2 separate regions of the Homo sapiens genome follow, and region 2 is linked to region 1. Evidence: promoter capture Hi-C in 16 types of primary human blood cells and fetal thymus (Javierre and others, 2016). All regions are on one chromosome and are shown on one strand. The core of a region is centred on a gene start or on the middle of the fragment in contact, and the rest is flanking DNA. Distances in the headings are between cores, read along the strand shown. Region 1 holds the start of PALLD (palladin, cytoskeletal associated protein). Region 2 overlaps NEK1 (NIMA related kinase 1).

Region 1 (6,307 bases), core at 1,966-4,465:
GCAGTGACACAGAGAAGTCAACAGGGTTCCAGCCAATAACAGGACTAACTTTCCAGGCACGTGAGTGAGCTGCCTTGGAAGCAGATTTTCCAGCCCCAGCCATGCTTCCACCTGAAAGAAGCTGGGGCAACATCTTCAGTACTATCTCATGATACCCTGATCTGGAATTACCCAGCTAAGACTAATGGATTCCTGACACATAGAAACTGTGTGAAATAACAAATATATATTGTTTTAAGACATTAATTTTTGCAGTAATTTGTTATGAAGCAGTAGATAAGTTATATCTGATTTTGGAGGTGGAGGAGGTCTGTTTGTGTGATCTGTAAGAGGAACAGAGATGAAGATTCATAGAGAAAAGCAGGTCCAAAACCAATATGCCAACATATAGAATAGACAAATGGGTGCTGAGTCACCCAGAATAATGGCAGGGTGTGGAGTGAAGAAGAGAACCAAGAGCCCAACTAGATCCAAAGTCTTAATTTTAAAAAGTGGGATGGAGGATGGTTGATGCAAATATAAGTGCTTCAAAAGAGCAGGAATTTCTATAAGAAGAAGTAATCATTTGAAAGCTGAACTGGAGCCCCATGAAGGAGCCACAGACTCCCTTTCCCAACCTTCGTGCACACAGAAATGGGCTCTGGTGGAAAATATGAAAGTGCATGAGAAATGATATTACTGTCCACACACTAATCTCATCCTTAATATCAACTGGACCTTGCTATACTAACTTAAGAGTGTTGATCAAACTTTCTAAATTTTTTTGATGCCAATTTTCTAAGGAAAAGAACTTCTTATAAGATTTTTAAAACAAGCTTGGTTTGCTGCACTATTTGCAATACACACACAAAAAGGTCACATTTCTGTGTCCTTTTGAGTAAAGTCATATCCATCTTTGAAGCCTCTCTCAGGACCACAAGCTGTTTTTTTTTCTTTTTTCTTCTTATGGCTTCATCACTTCACTGGTGTTATACCAGGATTTAGGAACCAAGCAATCCAAAGAAATGTGGGAGAGGCCTCGTCTGGCCAGTAGTCCAACATGATTGCCTCTGGAATTCACCATGAGACTCACAGTTCACCAGAAGGCAGAGGCAAAAATCAGAGTTGCCAATTAAAATTATTTCTAAAGATGGGTTCACTGCTTCCTATTCCCAAGCCTTTCTGAGACTCCATGGGGTGAATCACTTGCTTCTTTTCTGTATCTCCTCCTGCAGGCATTTAAGCTTTGTAATTTAGTTACATGCATACTTATATTTATCTCTTTCCAACAATTTTGTTCATTTCTGATATCTTCTATTGTCTTCCCTCCCAATTTCTGCCCTTTTCAGTTTTTACTATTATCTTGTGGTTTTAGGAAAAAGCAGATATAAATATGTGTTTAAGCAATGCTATGGTTTGAAGGTTTTTGTCCCCTTCAAAATTTTTGTTGATTCCTAATCCCCTATGCAACAGTATCAGGAGGTGTAACGTTTAGAAGGTGATTCAGGAGGACTCCTCATGAATGGGATTTGATGCCCTTAGGGCTTGATGGAGGAAGTTTGACCCCCTCTTGCCCTTCCACCTTCTGCCATGTGAGGACACAGTGCTCAAGGCATCACTGTGGAAGCAGAGACAGGAACTTCACCAGACAACAAACCTGCTGGCACCTTGATCTTAGACTTCCCAGCCTCCAGAACTATGAGAAATCAATTTCTGTTCTTTGTAAATTACCCAGTCTGTGGCATTTTGTTATAATGACACAAACTAAGACAATCAATCAGAGTTATATTTCCTTGTAAGTATAAATTTTATTTTTTTATTTTTATTTTTATTTTTTTTAAGAAGGAGTCTCGCTCTGTCACCCAGGCTGGAGTGCAGTGATGGGATCTCGGCTCACTGCAAGCTCCGCCTCCCGGGTTCACACCATTCTCCTGCCTCAGCCTCCCAAGTGGCTGGGACTACAGGCACCCGCCACCACGCCCAGCTAATTTTTTGTATTTTTAGTAGAGAGGGGGTTTCACTGTGTTAGCCAGGATGGTCTCAATCTCCTGACCTCATGATCCACCCACCTCGGCCTCCCAAAGTACTGCAATTACAGGCATAAGCCACCACGCCCAGCCGTAAGTATAAATTTTAAAATCACTTCTTAATTAATATAATAGATGAAATGACCCACAGAAGTATCCACTCACAGAAAGGACCATTTCTAAAGGACCAGTTTGGCCTATAAAGAAAATACAATAGCAGACCTTCACAAATTTTCTAACATCAGAAAAGAAAAAATATTTAGATATTAAACTGAATCAAATGTGATGGTCTTACCCAGACAAAGGAAGACTCAGCACCCCATTTCCAAGTTAACTGGGAGCTTTTGTGTTGCTCTTTTTGCCCCCCTTATATTTGATTCTGCTACCTGACCTTTAAACAGAAAAGCTTTCTCTTCTTGCTATCTATGTTTGTTATTTAAAAGATCAAAATATTAAACTCTTGCTATATCTATTTGTCATTTGAAAGATCAAAATATTAAATGATTGTGAAACATTTTTTGCAACTGTAAGAGGGTTGATACTTTTCCTGAATATTATTCATTCAACATTCATTTATTTCTTTGACAAATATTTAAGAGATGCTCATGATGTCCTAGGCATTGAGCTAAGAACTCAATGTTGCAATGTGGATAAGATCCAGTCCCTGTGTGTTCATACTTATTTAATACTATTATAGACAAGGCCTTTAATACATACCATAGTCATATATCAATTTTTAATTAGCAATATGAAATAAGAGAACAATGGGACTTTCCACTCAATTTGACAGGTGGCTAAATTTTCAGTTACTGAATTTACTATTTTAGGGTAATCTAGCACATGACCAAAATTTAAATGCACAGAACAGAAGATCAGAGTAAGAAGAGCTTCCATTTGGATTATCACTTTTTCTACTTGGAGTCACATACTGTACTTTAAATTGATTAAGAACATGTTAAAGGTCCAGGTGGTGATTTCCAGCTACAAGTCCAAAGTATAGAAGAATGTGTTTAAATCCTACGTTTATCAGATCCATAAATATAGTTCCTTCTATGTTAAGTGGCTTTATTTCTAAGAACCCAGCCCTCGGTCCTGGGGGTGCTTCCCAGCCCGCTGCTGGAATTCCTGATCGTGGCAGTCTGCTGAAACATGAGCTCAGTTACCAAATATAGCTGAGTGGAGTAAGAGGACAGATGAGAGTCTGAGGCCACAGTTGCCTCAAAGTGACCACGGACCAGGCAGTCTCTAATGAATAGGCAAGGCCACAACCTCCATTCTCCCAGAAAAGAAGAAATGCTCATCTGAAATTCATCACCTCTCTGGAGTCTTCAAACTGACCAAGCATTGAAAAGGTCTGTAAGGTGTATCTTAATATACTAACTAGTAGGGCAACATTTTAAGGACTTAAAAAAAAAAAAACTAAAAATACAAAAGTTTTTCTGAAGATATGATACTATTTACAAGATACCTTAATTATTCTTTTGCTTGGAGAGGAAACGTAATGAGAATGTTACGGTTTTGCCAAAAACAGATAATACGTAAGATTTGCCTGCCCACTTCATCTCTGCCTTTGCTGTCAGAGAATTACACTTTCTGTTATAAGCTTAAGCATGCTAAGATGGTGCTATCAATTCCAAAAGGATTAAATGTATTTATGGAGCCAGCTTTTGTCAAGATCGTGTATGTGTTATGTTTCACAGAAAAGGAAAACGCAGCTTTCTAGACCCTCACCCATATTTAAGCTAGATAAGTGATGATGGCTTAAAGTGATAGACCTTAGATTTCAGTAACATTATAAATTGTTAATTACACTTTCAAAAGATTCTAAAAGTAACTCACTGGACATAATTAAATGAGTTGGGATAGTAACAGCAGGTATTTTAAATTATATTCATGCATAAAATTTACATACATATTTTTAATAAGATAACGCTTACTAAGGGAAACCACAGTGCAATCTCGAGTCCAGTCAAGTTTAAACATCACAGAATAATTTTTATCATGTTGTTTTAAGTTGCACATGAAATTGTCTTGAATCCAATATAGGAGGTTGACATAAAATGATTTCAGGCTCATATTACTTATTAACATTTGCTAAAAATACTAATTGCCTTCTAGTATGAATAATGTGGTGACATATAAAGCCATTTCTTGGCAATATAAAACTATTACAAATCTATTCAATCACATATATGCAGAAATTAAATCCTCATTTCATGATAAATGTGCCTTCCAATGTTTTTTCTCACAGAAAGAACTTGAATACTCACCTCAATTATTCAGATTTTTTTTTCAGATTTTTAAAATCAAAGTCTCTTTGACAAGTTATTGCTAACAGCAGAAAAGGCCGATGAGGTTTATCTGGCCACTAACTGCCCTGTAAATACATGATTACACATTCCTAGAATATAAATTAGTCCTCTGGCATCCTAGAATCTGGTATGGATTAGGGTCTGTATCCCAGGGGTTCTGTGTCAGCTCTTCCTCTGGGTTTCTCTGTTATTGCTAGAGCTGAATATTAAAACTGGCCTTATAGCATATTTCACAATAGAATGAGGATCTGGATTGCACTGGACAAGTACAATCACTTTGACCTCCTTACCTCATTTTTTAAAAATGTAGAGGGCAATCATTATTCAGGTTTAAAAATAAATATGACAAGTTCTTTAAGAGATACCAAGTGGAATCTGCAAGGCCCAGACAAGAGCTCCACTTCTTAAACAATATGTGTGTGGAGGCTGTCAAAGGGTATTGCAATTACTGAGCTCCAGTTAGAAATTCAGGCCATCTAGAGTTAATGACTGTGTCCCGGTGAAATTACAGCAAAGAAAACAAAGATTGAACAAAGTATCTTCGACTAAAATTTCTAACTGTTAAATCATATTAGAGAATATAGAAGCAAATTTGGTAAATAGGTTTTGAATTTAAGTGAGAAGAATAAAGCCCTGAATTGGATAATGGTAATGGAAATGGATAATTCAGAAGTAAAATCTAAATATTTGCAATGGACTCAGTATGGTGAATAAAGTTGATAAGATGAACAGGACATGGGATAACTTCAAAAACTCTGTAAAGTATCTTATTTGGCTGTTTCTGCATTAAATGAGCTATTAGATTATGTCCTTGAAATTGAGATTAAATAAGCTGTTTAAAGAGATATTTAAAACTGTAGGATAAATATATCTGCCTGCATTGACAATTTAATAATTAGAAAGGAAAATAATCCATGTGTATTTATTAAGAAATAAATTATAAAATTGTAGTGCATTTTCTGCATCAAACATAAAATTTCATAAAATTTTCGTGTTTGACTTTTGCCCTAAAGGACCCTTTGTAGCAAAAAAAAAAAAAAAAAAAAAAAAAAGGAAGGAAGAAAGAAAGGGAGACGGGGAAGAAGGAAGGGAGAAGGGAGGGAGGAAGGGAGGGAGGATGGGAGGGAGGATGGGAGGGAGGATGGGAGGGAGGAAGGGAGGGAGACATGGAAGAAGGGGGAAGGGAGGCAGAAGGGAGGGAGGGGGGAGGGAGGAAGGGAGGGACTTTATTGATTTAGTCTAGGGGGGTTGCCTGTGATTCTGAAGCATGAAAATTAAGTGTTAAAGCTTTTCTAACTTTGGTTTTCATAGTTTAGGTTTTATTAAAAGATATTTCAATATCTAATATTTGTATCAATGGTTTGCATTACTTTTTTAGTAATTGCTTAAATATGAAAATAAAACTGCTAAACCTAAAATTAAAAATCACTTATAACTTTTTTTCAAAAATTACAAAATAAGCAACAAAAGATCCCCCTGCATGTCCCACCTTTCAACTCCTACCCCTGCCTAAATCCCCCCACAGAGGTCAGTGTTGATTGTTTGGTGTATGTTATTCCAACCATTTTCATATATTTATTCCTATCTATGTATACATTTTTAAATGACTATGGGAATTTAGCTATTCCACCTGGACTCTCTAAAGAATCTGCTGAATGTGGTACATGGTATTAAGTGATCCTTACTGCCTGTCAATGTTTTTCTAACATCAAACTTTTTCTTTCAAAATTGTAGCAGTTCTTCATCGACTCAAAGTATTTCACAAACAGACTTCAAAAGTTTTCCCCTTATCTAAATTTTTAAAGTAATTTCCTATAATATCTCCAATGAGAGAAGAAAACTTTGCAGTTAAATGCAGGCTTCCACCCTGAGTCTGCCACTTTCTGATGGCTCAGGTTGGGCCAAATAATTGAAACTTTTTCTGCTGCAGTTGTGGGTAATACAAACAATAAAATAGAAAAATAACATCTACTACATGGATTGTTCTGA
Region 2 (6,307 bases), core at 1,908-4,407, 1.1 Mb after region 1:
AAATAAAAACTGTATAATGCTACAGAAGTCATGGTGAAAGAATTTCATTAAGAAGAAATCAATAACCTCAAATGCAAAGGTCAACTTATTTTAACTTTTCTTATCTGAGAATAAGACCACCAGATATGACTAAGGCTGAGTGGAAGCCTTTAAAAAAACCATTTTCTGAGTGTGTGAAGTGATGAGAACAGAAGCCACAATAATGAGAGTAAAAAAGGGAAAACTTCCAGGTGATAACATCTTAAGGAAAATGCCTGGTTAAAAAAAGAAACAAAGGCCAGGCATGGTGGCACATGCCTGTAATCCCAGCACTTTGGGAGGCTGAGGTGGGCAGATTGCTTGAGCTCAGGAGTTCGAGACTAGCCTGGGCAAATTGGCGAAACAACATCCCTGCAAATACAAAAAATTAGCCGGGCGCAGTGGCATGTGTCTGTAGTCCCAGCTACTCAGGAGGCTGAGATGGGAAGATTGCTTGAACTCAGGAGGTCAAGGCTACAGTGAGTCATGATCCCACCACTGCAATCTAGCTTGGGTGACAGAGTGAGATCCTGTCTCAAAAAATAAGTAAATAAATAAAATAATAATAAAAGAAACAAAGAAAAATGTCAGAATCCAATAAAAGAAACTTCAGTGTAACCCAATAAGACAAAATTTGTCTTCCATCAAGGTGGTCCTTACATACATCCTCAAAATGTACATCTGAAGTCAAGAATCAGAATTCAGTTATAAGGTGGTCATATTTCCTATGAAACTGGTTACTCTTTGAATTTAGCCCAATGCTAATATCATCTTAACTTGACTGAGTGCTCCATTTCTCTTTAGCAAAAACAAAAGTAGGTAAACATCTCAGAAGATGCTCATACTCAAAATAATGTTGAAAATACTATATGAGAATACTGATGAAATATGTTTGTTTGAGACATAATTTATGTACAATAAAAATTCACCAATTGTAAGCACAGGCTGAATTCTGACAAATGTAGACACTCACATAACCACTACTACAATCAAAAGCATATCCATTACCCCAGAAAGTTCCCTTGTGTTCCTTTGCAGTAAATGCTCGCACTGTCAGCAACCACTGATCTGCTTTCCGTCACTACAGGTTGGATTTGCCTTTCCCATTATGTCATGTAAATAAAATCATAAATATGTACTCTTTTATCTGGTTTCTTTCACTCACAGGTTTTTAAGATTGATCCATGGTGTTGCATGTATAAACAGGCTATTCTTTTTACTGCCAAATGGTATTCCAATATATTTTCAAACAAGAGATACACCTCTTCCATATTATAATCACCATATAACCATACATGTGGAATATATAATTTTTCTAAAAACACATTCATAAAAGACACATTAAAAATGGATAAAACAAAGAAGGTCCAGATTTTGCAGATACTAAATAATCAAAAACATTTACATTGGATATTTATACTATGAATAAAAATGCCTCTTATTTAGAAGTACGTAATAATAGTATTAATTTTGAAATACTTTAGTTTTAGTTTTATCTTTCTTTTGGGGAATCTCCTTAATTTGATTCATATGATACTGAGCCTCCAGGTCCTTATCAACTATGTAGAAATCAAACAGCCTAACAAGTTAAAATATTTCAAATTCAATGAGGAATAAATATAGAAACTAACATAGAATTTCCTTTAAATCATGGAAAATAAATTGTTTTATTAATCTTCAATGAAAGCATTACAGAAGTTTATAAAGTGATGCAGAAATCTATTCAGTACACAGTATGTAACTTGAAAATTGTCTCAGTTATTAAACATTAATAAAACTGATTAATACTGTATTAGACATCATAGGAAAAAGCACTTTATTACACAAAAGGGAGAAGAATAAATCATCAAAACTTCAGTGCTAATCACGGACTTGATAAAAAAATGCTTGAGATCTGAAGGAGTACAAGTTGATAAGCTTTCTCTTTCCAATCAGGTAAGATGTGAGGTTAGTTATTTTAGAATGGACCAGATTCTAAGTCATTCCTGATCATTCAGGAGGTAATAAGTTCTACTTAAAGGTAAGATAAAATTATACTACTAAAAACACTGTATAATCTATATTAATACAAATTTGGAAAAAGTTACTCTTAATGAATTATTACTATGATATGAAGAACTTCTGCACCTCAAGAGACTGAAAAACAAATCTATAAATCCAGGGCAGAATGTATATGTCTAGATAAAACAAACTTTTATTCAAATTATAACTTTTGGAGAAAAAAAACCAAGAATTATAATTGATCCAATTTGACAAGTATCTATTGTACATCTAAATATCAAGATTAATGGGTGTACATGAGTGAAACTTATAGTTTGAAGATGTATTGACTTAGGCTGGGCACGGTGACTCACGCCTGTAATCCCAGCACTTTGGGAGGCCGAGGCAGGCAGGTCACCTGAGGTCGGGAGTTCGAGACCAGCCTGACCAACATGCAGAAACCCCGTCTCTACTAAAAATACAAAATTAGCTGGGCGTGGTGGTGCATGCCTGTAATCCCAGCTACTCCGGAGGCTGAGGCAGGAGAATCGCTTGAACCCGGGAGGCAGAGGTTGCAGTGAGCTGAGATCGTGCCATTGCACTCCAGCCTGGGTAACAAGAGCGAAACTCCATCTCAAAAAAATAAAAAGATGTATTGACTTACAGTTTATTCAATGATACAAATTAGTGCATTCATCTTCTATTGCTGTATAACAAACTATCACAAATTTAGTAGCTTAAAACAATATCTATTTATAATCTCAGTTCCCCTGGCTCAGGAATCTGGGTGCATTTAGCTGGGTCCCCTCCTCAGGATCTCACCAGGCAGAAATCAAGGTGTCAGCCAGGGTTACAATTCTCACCTGAGACTCAGGATCTCTTCCAAGTTTACTGGTTCTTGGCAGAATTAATTTCCTTGTGGCTGTATGACTAGGACCACAATTTTCTTGCTAGTTGCTCATTAGAGACCACTACTTGTAGAGGTCATCTCTACTGTTTTGCCACATGAATGTTTACTATCTTCCAGGTGAGCAGAATTCTCTCTCTCTAATTTCTTTTCCCCTTCCAGTCAGCTATGAAGGAGTCTTATATGTTAACGTAACCCTGGGAGAGACCATCCCATCACCACTTGCCATATAACATAACCTAATCAAGTGAGCTGCTATACTACAGTATTTACAGGTACCACTTATACTCAAGGGAATGGAATAACACAAGGTGTGTATACCGCAGTTGAGAATCTTGGAGACCATCTTAGAATTCTACCAACTACAAATAGAGATATGTATAGGATGCTGTATGAATAAAAGAGGAAGTATAAGATTCAGACTGGCAGAACAAAGAAAGGAAAGGGAAATTACTATAGAAGCCCTTGCCAGACAGGTTCCAGGCACTGTTCTTGGAAAAAAAACTTTTTTTTTTTTTTAAATCAAGAAACCAAAGCTCAGAAAAGTTCAGTAATGTGCCCAAGGTTAAATAGGGTGGATCTACCCAGAAGGAATGTTTAGATTAACTCATCTATGTAACTGGTTATTTAGCTAAATGGATGGAGGTGGGACGTGAGGGTGAGGAGGGATGGAGAGTGCTATTAAGTAAAAGGAAACACAAGTGCAAAGACAAAGAGATTTGGCAAACCACATATAGTAATGAAACTACAAATATAGTCTTCATTTCAGCATGAATAGAGCATACAGTATGTGGTAGGGAATGGATGGTGATGAAGTTGGAGAGACAACAGGGATCAGATTAAGAAGCATCTTCTGAGAACTTAATCTTCAAGGCTACATGAAATTACAGAACGATTTTAGGCTGCAGTGTCATGAATTGTACATAATTTTTAAAAATTCCTGACAGGAATAATGTTATCATAGTCTTCACAAAAAACTTTTAAAGCAATTTTGAGTATAGTCACATAACAGCAACACAAGTTACATATCAGATACATGCAGGAAAGCTAAGTATTCATAATAAATGTTAAAGAATTCTAGGTAAAAATTAATTGTACACTAAAGAAAGAAAGAAAATCCCAAGTACATGCATTTTATAGAACAAGGTGGAACTGGAGGGGAAAATGGTAGTATAACCATATTGGTATAAAATGCCTACCTTTACTTCACCACTTCCACCAGCACTTAGCACATTTCTCCATCCTTGTTCCCTGGCCCTATTTATTCTTTCCAACTTTGGGGAAAAGAAATAAACAAAACACCATTTCAAGTATTTAATATAAAATACACGTAATACATTTAGCAATAAACTGAAAATCAGTGTATTCCTTAAGAAAAAAGTATATTTAATAGATTATCCTCTTACCCTTTCCTTTTCTTGCCTTTTCATTTGTTCAGCCTTCATTAAACTAATAATCTGTAACAATTTTAAAGACAAGCTTCTTACAACTCTTGAACCTATTATCACTTAACAACTTGCCAAAGGTAGAAAAACAAGAGCAAAAAACTACCTGATCCTTTTGTTTCTTTTCTTTTTCAATAAATTCCAGCCTTCTCTTTCTTGCTGCTTCCTTAAATAAAAAAAAGAACATTTTAATCCATAATAATTCCTGTTTTTTCTAGTTTCATCAGGAAAGTTAGTACACCAATGGCAGAGGTATGTTCAATGAGGTTTTTTTTTTAAAAAAAAAAAGAAGTTATAGGTATTCGTTTGAAAGAAATAAGGAAAGGTTTGGAGGCTTTATAGTAAGATTTTGTTTCTTTTTTAAAATTATGTTTGCAAAGCTTTAAAATAACCAGACAGATGTCTTTATACCTCAGATATTTTCCTCCTTTCTTCTCCAGTATTCACTCTCTTCTCTGGAGTTTGATGGGCCTGGACAAAAAGTAAAACTACAAATTAAATAAAGATTTTGAGGCACTTATTTGAAAATCCCAAATTTACAGAAATTTAAGATAAGAAAAAGGTAAAGTCAATACTTCCATAACTCTCTTCCAAATTACATTATCTTAAAAAAAAAAATCGTAGTCTTTGATATGCTGTTAAACAAAGAGAAACATTAGATTCAAAGAAACTGTGGAAAAGGGTCCTTCCCCAATCATCAACTAAACAGTTTTGTGTTCAGGTATGGATGTTTAAGTTTTCCAATATTATCATAGACTATCATTTGAAAAGCCCAATGATGGAGATAATTTTTTTAAAAAAATTAGTGACACAATATATATTCAGTATATAAAATTCAAACAAGATTAAAAATTTAGGGTCTATTTTGCTCTCCACCTCCAGAGTAACGGTAACCACTGTTAATATTTTCATTAGTGTCCTTCAGAGATTATTTTTGTACTTATATATACAGTTCAACTATATACATACAACAATTTTAGCTATGATTTTTACATACATGTAATATTAATGTGTTAATAAAATGACTTTAATTTTTAAAATTTCAATAGCTTTAGGGGTACAAGTGGTTTTTGGTTACATGGATGAAATGCATAATGGTATATATTAGATATTTACATTTCTTCTTTTATATACTGTTTACCTAACTTTGGGGTTGTTAATGGACTCATACAATATATATTCTTTTGTATCTTGCTTTTGCTCAACACTGTTTTCAAGGTTCATTCATGTTATTATTTATATCTGCATCTGTTTTCTTCATGGATATATAGCATTCTATTAATTTTGATTCCTTTCTTTCACAATTATCTTATACTTTACTCATTAGGTCTATTCTAAAGTATTTGGGGGCGGGACTGATGTGGTAGCTCACACCTGTAATCCTAGCACTTTGGGAGGCCAAGATAGGAGGACTGCTTGAGCCTAGGAGTTTGAGACCAGCCTGGATAACATAGTGAGTCCCCATCTCTACAAAAAATTTTTAAAAATTAGCCAGGCATGTGGCCCACACCTGTTGTCCCAGCTACTCAGGAGGCTGAGGTGGAAGGATCTCTTGAGCCCAGGAGGTAGAGGCTACCATGAGCCATGATCACATCACTATACTCCAGCCTGACAGAGCGAGATCCTGTCTCAAAAAAAAAAATAAAAATAAAAAAATCAAGTATCTGGGGGGTTTGTGGGTAATTCTTTCCATTTATTTTCTAATCATTTATTTTTTACATGTTGCCCTTCCATCAGGCCACTTTATTTAATTTATTAATAGTTTAATGCTGCTTCACCACGATTTTCTAGGTAGGTAATCATATCAAATGTAAATACGATATGTCTATGTTTTCTCTCCTCTTCCAATATTTACATTTCTTTCCTTTTAATTGCTCTAGCTAGAACCTCTGGCATAATTTAACGATGGCAATGACAGCAAATCCCTCTGTCTTGTTCCTGACTTTAATGATAATGC

What was found. Contacts are between HindIII fragments. The CHiCAGO score rates a contact against its expected background, and 5 or more counts as called.
Region 2: a contact is called between a fragment that was not itself captured here and the fragment with the promoter of PALLD in region 1, in 2 of 17 cell types (naive B cells and total B cells). The highest score is 8.8, in naive B cells.

The regions. Positions count from the first base shown.
Region 1 is chr4:168,493,837-168,500,143 of GRCh38, forward strand. PALLD (palladin, cytoskeletal associated protein) reads left to right here and starts at 3,216. Exons shown (of 22, transcript NM_001166108.2): 1 at 3,216-3,358. All of the region lies in intron 1 of LOC107986198 (a long non-coding RNA gene), which reads right to left. The HindIII fragment of the contact is 1,197 bases long and covers 2,411-3,607 here.
Region 2 is chr4:169,557,376-169,563,682 of GRCh38, forward strand. It overlaps NEK1 (NIMA related kinase 1), which reads right to left. Exons shown (of 36, transcript NM_001199397.3): 13 at 4,762-4,821; 14 at 4,457-4,516; 15 at 4,312-4,362; 16 at 4,105-4,179. Among named protein-coding and RNA genes, the nearest start is that of NEK1, 52 kb to the right of the region's middle. The HindIII fragment of the contact is 2,449 bases long and covers 1,934-4,382 here.